Linked DNA regions of Homo sapiens: region 1 is linked to region 2. Evidence: promoter capture Hi-C in 16 types of primary human blood cells and fetal thymus (Javierre and others, 2016). All regions are on one chromosome and are shown on one strand. The core of a region is centred on a gene start or on the middle of the fragment in contact, and the rest is flanking DNA. Distances in the headings are between cores, read along the strand shown.

Region 1 (3,706 bases), core at 975-3,474, 710 kb before region 2:
TTTGAAAAATCATAATTTATGCACCAGGGTCTTACATGCAGATATATACTGCTGAATGTGTGCTCACCCAGTCATAGCAACCATCATTTTTGGTGATGCTAAAGTGTTATTTTGTGAAGTTCCTGATGTCAGTTTAATGACATTTGTACTTTTACCTCTCAATTTTATTTATTAACAAGTATTAACTGGACCACAGAGAGAAAATTTCTTCAATGACTGGGGCAGTTCACTGGGGATAGCTGTATAGAAGCTTGTCCTGCTGGTGTCTTCCTAAAAATGAATAGGAAATTATCTAAGTTTTTTCTTTCACACTGTTGGTGAGAGGACCTCAATCATTACATTGTTTGCACATTTTTCAAATTGCATCATTAGAGGTGTGTTAACTACATTATTTTAATTTAGTTTGGTTTGGAGAGTGTGTGCGTTTAATAGATGCTAGAAAATACAGCCTAAATAAATCTTAAGTACACCTTAATAAGATGAAGGTATGATAAGGAGGTCAATATCACTGGAAGTAGAGGGAGGAAGGGAAAAAGAGAAGACAATGAGATTGCATAAGTAAAACTTCTGTTTAGACTTAAAATAAGAAGAAAACCAGTCATAAAAAGGAAATATTACAAGATTATTTAATGGCTGATTCAGCAGTCAGCAGACAAGACTGCAAAATGAGGAAGTTTGCTTGTATTTTTAAAAAAGTTTGGTTTTTATTTTTTTTTATTTTAAAATCAGTATATTTTCATTTAAATAAAATTGGTAAATACAAAAAAGTAGAAAAGTATCTTCTTAATTTCCTTAATGAACATAATTCTGCTACTCAGAGATAGTTCCTGTGAATATTTGACTGTTAAGCAATTTGTTTTTGTAATGAGACACCATACAAAAGACAAACTTTTGGGAGGTTTTGACCAGGTGTTCTTTTATGTTTTAGCTTCTTGCTGCTGACAGTTGCTCTCCTGGCTTCTTACTCAGTCCATCTTCTGCTTAGTATGTGTATTCAGACAGGTGAGTAAAAATGTTATGCTGCTTCATTTAATAAAGGAGTCTCTTGAGTTTGTATCTACATATAGAACTGGATGTCTCAAATCTAATATCCAGTGAGCATACATTTTTATTAGATAGGGTGATCGGAATGGAGAATTTGAAAAACCAGGATATACAGACCCAATACTGTGGGGGAATATCCAAGCACAGGATGGGAGGAGGTAATTAGCATTTTTACCTGCTTTCCTCCACAACACAACCTAATTTTCTGGAGTAGAGTAGATCATGGGAGGGTCTAAAAGGTGTTCAAAGGATCCAAACCTTATGCTTATGGAGAAATCATTTTCTCAAGGAGAGAACACCTTCTCAGAGCTACTGTTGCCTTCCCTGCCCCCATCTGCCTGCTAGTCAGAGGTAGGGATGGCAGAATTAGGATTGTAGGAAGTAAGGTCACAAAGCTTTAATTTATTTAGACACATTTTGTATTTTTAATTGCAAGTCTAGAATAGGGTAGTTTTTTCCTAAGAGAAATAAGTATGTGCAGTTAATTCAATATATTTGTGTATATACTTTTTCCCATTTGGAATTTTATTATGCAATTCAGTCATGTATTGAATAAGTTCTTTTAGGATCCAGTAAATAAAAGTATATGAATTATAGAAGTGCTTTTCTAAGATTTTCCTTTTGTCATTAACAAATATTCTATGTTCATCAGTCCTGGTCTTTTTATCTGTCTAGTCTCTTTTGTCTTTGGATTAGGTCAGCTTTGATGCCAAAATCATGGGTTTAATTCTTATATGGATGAGTTCGTTTTGCTTTATCTGGCCTTGTGATGTTCAGATTTTAAGAAGAAAAGTAGATACACAAAATAGATAAAAATGGATTTCTTAATTCATTTAGTGTTTCTATAAAAGAATACCTGAGGCTGCATAATTTATAAATAAAAGAGGTTTATTTTGCTCATAGTTCTACAGGCTCTGCAAGAAGCATGGCCCTTCTTATGAGGGGCTTTTCTGCTCCATCTGCATCTAGTAAGGGGCTCAGGCTGCTTTCATTCATTGTGGAAGGTGAAGGGGAGCTAGGATATGCAGAGATCACATGGCAAGAGAGGAAGCGAGAGAGGAGGGGCATGCCAGGTTCTTTTTAACAACCAGCTCTCATGAAACTAATAAAAGTGAAAACTCACTCATTACCCCAAGGAAGGCACCAAGCCATTCATGAGGGATCTGGCCCCAGGGCCCAAACACCTCCCCTTTGGCCCTACCTCCAACACTGGGGATCTGATTTCAACATGAGATTTGGAGGGGTCTGACAAACCAAACTATATCAGTGAGACTATTCTGTGCTGAAACAGGTGAGTGAAGCCCAGTGATGTTTCTTAAGAATTTTAAGACTCTTCAGAATAATTCTGAAGCCACTGCTCTAGTTTGTTTTCCTAAAACCTGTCCATCATCAGAAATACTCATAGATCTTTTTATACACAGAGAGCTCTAAGCCTCAGGGATTCTAATTTCAAAAATCTGAGGTGAGACTCAAGAATATGTTTTTAACAAGGCAAAACCAGTTTAGGATCCATAGTTTATAGCTCTAACTTGTACCAGTGCTTTGGCCAGCCAGTGCCAGATATGTTTTTAACAAGTCCTCCAAGTGATTCTTATGCAAATCTAGTTTAGGATTCATAGTTTATAGCCACAACTTCTAACAGTGCTTTGGCCATCCAGTGCACGCCTTTGCTCTCAAGGGGCTTGGGTGAATGTGCAGACAGATGAAAATACTAGGAAGCAGTACAAATATTAATCCTAAAGTAACAGGTTGTTCATAAAAGCATCCTGAATTTAGGAATAATAGCTTTAGATAAATATATTTGTAAATCCTGCTGAAACTTGAATTTTAATTGCATGTATTGAAATTTTGCTGAATGTGAAAAAAATTTTACTTAATTGTGATACTTTAACATCTTGGTAGATTCTTTCAATTCATTCTGTTAAAAGATTAATACTTTAGTCAACTATGTGGCAATTATGTCTTTCAAGCTTCATTTTAAAACTTCATTTTAGTTTTAATTTAAGTAAAATGTTTTATTTCGGTTATGTGGGAGTAGTATTCAGTGTGTGGAGATTTCTAAGTAATTTTAATTTTTTACTCCTTCGGTTCACATGTATTTAACTTTAAGATTCTGACACTGTGTTTGTTCTTTTCTGTAACTCTGGGGCGTATGAAGTGAATATATCTGTTTCTCTTCTTTTTTCTTTTTCTTTGATTTCTGTAGCCTACTTGGGCCCATGAACTAACTACTTCATGGTTCTGCCTGCACATTGACTCACCTGTCTTCCGTTGATTGAATTCCTTCAATCTTTGTAAAATTCTCTGTGGAGGTAGGCTTTTCCTTTTTTTTTTTTTTTTCAATACATACATTCATATATAAAGACTAGAGTATAATACGTAACTAACTCTCTCCCAACAGTTTGTTGGACTGTCATAAAGGATTATTATGCTCAGATTGAATTCATTGGTAAGAGAAAGAGCTATCATGAGTTTTTATGAAATAACTTCTTCATTTATTTGCTGGTGGTAAAGGGTAAAGAGAAATTTTCATCTTTATAAAAGTAAAGGATTTCTTCACATGAAATTCTACTTTAGATTTTATGGAGCGTTTGGGGTCTATCAGGACTTTTCATGGGAGCTGAGGTGGAATGTAAAGAACCTTATTCTCTCTAGCCTTCGT
Region 2 (3,480 bases), core at 642-3,141:
TCACTTGTACCTGGGAGGCGGAGTTGCAGTGAGCCGAAATCGCGCCACTGCGCTCCAGCCTGTGGGCCAGAGCGAGACTCCGCCTCAGAATAATAATAATGATAATAATAATAACGCCACCAACAATACTAAGAGCTAACATTTACTGAGTGCTTACTATGCACCAGATATTGTTCTAAGTATACATTTATTATCTCATTTAACCATCCATAATACTGTGGTATAGACACTTTTATATCCATTTTATAAATAAGTAAACTGAGTTATGGAGAGATTAAACGACTTGCCAGTAAGATTCAAAGCCTGTGTACAAGCTCACGCTTGATTCTGGAGCCAGTGTTCTTAACACAGTATCTTGAGAATGTTAAACTAAAAAGTTTTTAATTTACAGTATTCTTTCCACAATTAAAAAAGAAATTATGAGTAATTATTTTTAGTTCTTTCTTCTCTTCAGGCATTTCCCATGGTTCTTTTCAAGACATAATACATATCATTTAGTGTTGTAGATCTGAAAAAACAAAAGTAGCGTGAAGATCAAAAATTTTCTAAAGAGACGGAGTCTCGCTACGTTCCCTAGGCTGGAACACCCAGGCTTCTCCAGCCTCACACCTCTGAGTAGCTGGAACCACCCTGTCCGCTAAGGTCAATGTTTAATCGTATCTTTGTAGGTCTACTGACCAGTTAAAAAGAGGTGCTGTATACATTGGTTGTTGTCTTGTCAGAGTTTGATGCTTCTATATAGACCATTGTTTTTACATGCTAATACAATTGAAAGCCACTACAGATATTTATATTTACAACCCAAAGCTAGGTTTTAACAAGAAACTCATAAGGCAAAGGTGAGAAGTAAAATAATTTAGCGCCAAGTGGAGATATATGTGCAATGCTACTTTGTTGGGCTCAAAACATATTTTTCTTTTAGAAGACTGACAGGCTTGAAGTTTATGCCTCCAAAGACAAAAGTGATTATGTTTTGTTTAGTAGCTTGCAAAGTTGCCAAAGGCCATTTTTTCTACTCTTTCCCTGAAATTGGTTTATATGCTTATTAAAGTCATTTATACCTATTTGCAAATGCTTAACATAGTTTCAGATTTTAAGATTTCCCTGCAACTTTATTTCCCTTGAAGTTTACAGCAACAGGAGTTCATTTTTATTTTTAATTGCATTTATTCAGTAAGTAAACTCCGCCACAGAAAAACTTAGTAGACAAGGTGAGTTCCCCTGTGCTCCGTGGCAAAGAGTGCGGTGGGTGACATTGACCCATGGTTAGGTAATCTGGTAAGGAAAGACCCCGTTGTAACACATCTGAGCAACGAGACCAAAGGAAGGGCTTGCTGCCACGAGGCGAAGTCTGCTTTTTTGAACAGAGAGCCCAGCAGAGTTGGGCGGCAATCGTGCCCAGCACTGAGGCCGAGGAGAAAGAGAGCAGGAGCATTACATTACTGCACCAAGAGTAGGAAAATATGATGCATGTTTGGGACCAGGCAACCGAAATCCCTTCTCAGCAGCGCCTCCCAAAGCCGGGCACCGCCTTCCTTCGGAGAAGGCGCAGAGTCCCCAGACTCGGGCTGAGCCGCACCCCCATCTCCTTTCTCTTTCCTCCGCCGCTAAACACAGACGAGCACGTGAGCGTCGCAGCCCGTCCCAGCTGTGCCTCAGCTGACCGCCTCCTGATTGGCTGAGAGCGGCGTGGGCTGGGGTGGGGACTTGCCGCCTGCGTCGCTCGCCATTGGATCTCGAGGAACCCGCCTCCACCTCAGGTGAGGCGGGCTTGCGGGAGCGCGCGCCGGCCTGGGCAGGCGAGCGGGCGCGCTCCCGCCCCCTCTCCCCTCCCCGCGCGCCCGAGCGCGCCTCCGCCCTTGCCCGCCCCCTGACGCTGCCTCAGCTCCTCAGTGCACAGTGCTGCCTCGTCTGAGGGGACAGGAGGATCACCCTCTTCGTCGCTTCGGCCAGTGTGTCGGGCTGGGCCCTGACAAGCCACCTGAGGAGAGGCTCGGAGCCGGGCCCGGACCCCGGCGATTGCCGCCCGCTTCTCTCTAGTCTCACGAGGGGTTTCCCGCCTCGCACCCCCACCTCTGGACTTGCCTTTCCTTCTCTTCTCCGCGTGTGGAGGGAGCCAGCGCTTAGGCCGGAGCGAGCCTGGGGGCCGCCCGCCGTGAAGACATCGCGGGGACCGATTCACCATGGAGGGCGCCGGCGGCGCGAACGACAAGAAAAAGTAAGCCCATTCCCTCGGCCCGCCGCCTTCTCCCCCGGCGACCCCGCCCGCCTGCCCGCCCTGGGCTCCTGGGCCGGCCTCGGCGTTAATGGGATTGGGGGGGGCAGCCTTTTTGTTTCTGCTGCTGCTCCCCTCCCCTCTCTTCCCCCAACCTCGCCGGCCGGGCTCCCCCGCTGTCCACGTCGCCATCTTGTCGTGGGGGGTGGGAGACGCCTCGAAAGTGCTTTCAGGGGCCGGGGTCTGAGCCCTGCTTGCCCTCCCCGCCGGCCGTGGGGGCCTCGCGCCGCCCACCTACCCGCCTCAAAAACCCAGCCTGCTCTGTGGCCCCATCCGGAGGGGACTTTACCCAGCCTGAAAACCCCGGGAAGAGAAATGAGCTGCAGCTCGGTAGCCGCGGTTTGCACCCGGAGCTTCCGCTCCTTCCCGCCCCCATCCTCTCCAGTTCCATTGAAAACTCGGCCCTGGGGCGGACCCTGCACGCTGGTCCTGGCTTTCCAGTGGACTTGGGGCCTTGAGTTCCCGACTGAGGGACTCGCGTGGTCGGATGCGATCTTGTCCTGTAGTTGTCCAGCCGTCGCGGGTGTCTTTGCCTTTGTGCATTAGGGATTTGCCGCGATGGCCTTAAGATGCGAACTTTTTAGTTTGCACGTGCAGGTTTTGTTTCGTTTTAATCGCCTTGAAAAACTTGCCTAGACTGAGAGTCAGAGTAATGGGAATTTAGGGAAATGGCAACATTTTAAAGAGAACTTCAGAATTGGATACTTGAGTTCATATCACCTGTCACGAGAACGCAGATATTATAAATGAATATATGCCTCATTCATTCTTCAAATAATGAAAATGTAGGGGCTGGTTAAATTTAGGCAGTTTTAATGATACTGAAAAAAGTATATGATGAGTGAATGAAATGCGGCACTAAAATGTTGCAAAAATTTTCGAACTCTGTCTCATTTTCCTGAAATTGAAGTATATTAAAGGAAAACCGTCAACATATATCTAAAGTAAGTAATCACTCGGTTAGAACTTAATGCAAGTTTTATAAATCACCTTGAAGTTTGAGTCTAAGGGGTACATTAGAGATTAAGAATTGTGAGTTGGACCAGTGGTGTTAAGAGCGGACTCCCCCATCCCCCAACACACACACAATTTTGCCCACTTTGGCATTTTAACTTTTAAGGAAATCACTTAAGGAATTGAAGATTTAGAGTAAGAGTTTTGGTTAGTAGACTGGCTTTGCTGTTAAATCCTTCCACTCTTCTGGC

What was found. Contacts are between HindIII fragments. The CHiCAGO score rates a contact against its expected background, and 5 or more counts as called.
Region 1: a contact is called between a fragment that was not itself captured here and the fragment with the promoter of HIF1A in region 2, in 1 of 17 cell types (monocytes). The highest score is 5.5, in monocytes.

The regions. Positions count from the first base shown.
Region 1 is chr14:60,983,802-60,987,507 of GRCh38, forward strand. It overlaps SLC38A6 (solute carrier family 38 member 6), which reads left to right. Exons shown (of 16, transcript NM_153811.3): 3 at 929-1,002. Among named protein-coding and RNA genes, the nearest start is that of SLC38A6, 4.4 kb to the left of the region's middle. The HindIII fragment of the contact is 1,575 bases long and covers 1,438-3,012 here.
Region 2 is chr14:61,693,622-61,697,101 of GRCh38, forward strand. It overlaps HIF1A (hypoxia inducible factor 1 subunit alpha), which reads left to right and starts at 1,892. Exons shown (of 15, transcript NM_001530.4): 1 at 1,892-2,218. The coding sequence starts at 2,184. It overlaps HIF1A-AS1 (HIF1A antisense RNA 1), which reads right to left and starts at 2,202. Exons shown (of 2, transcript NR_047116.1): 1 at 2,086-2,202. RefSeq lists an enhancer at 1,211-1,580 and silencers at 1,651-1,950, 2,251-2,350. The HindIII fragment of the contact is 8,611 bases long and covers 1-3,480 here.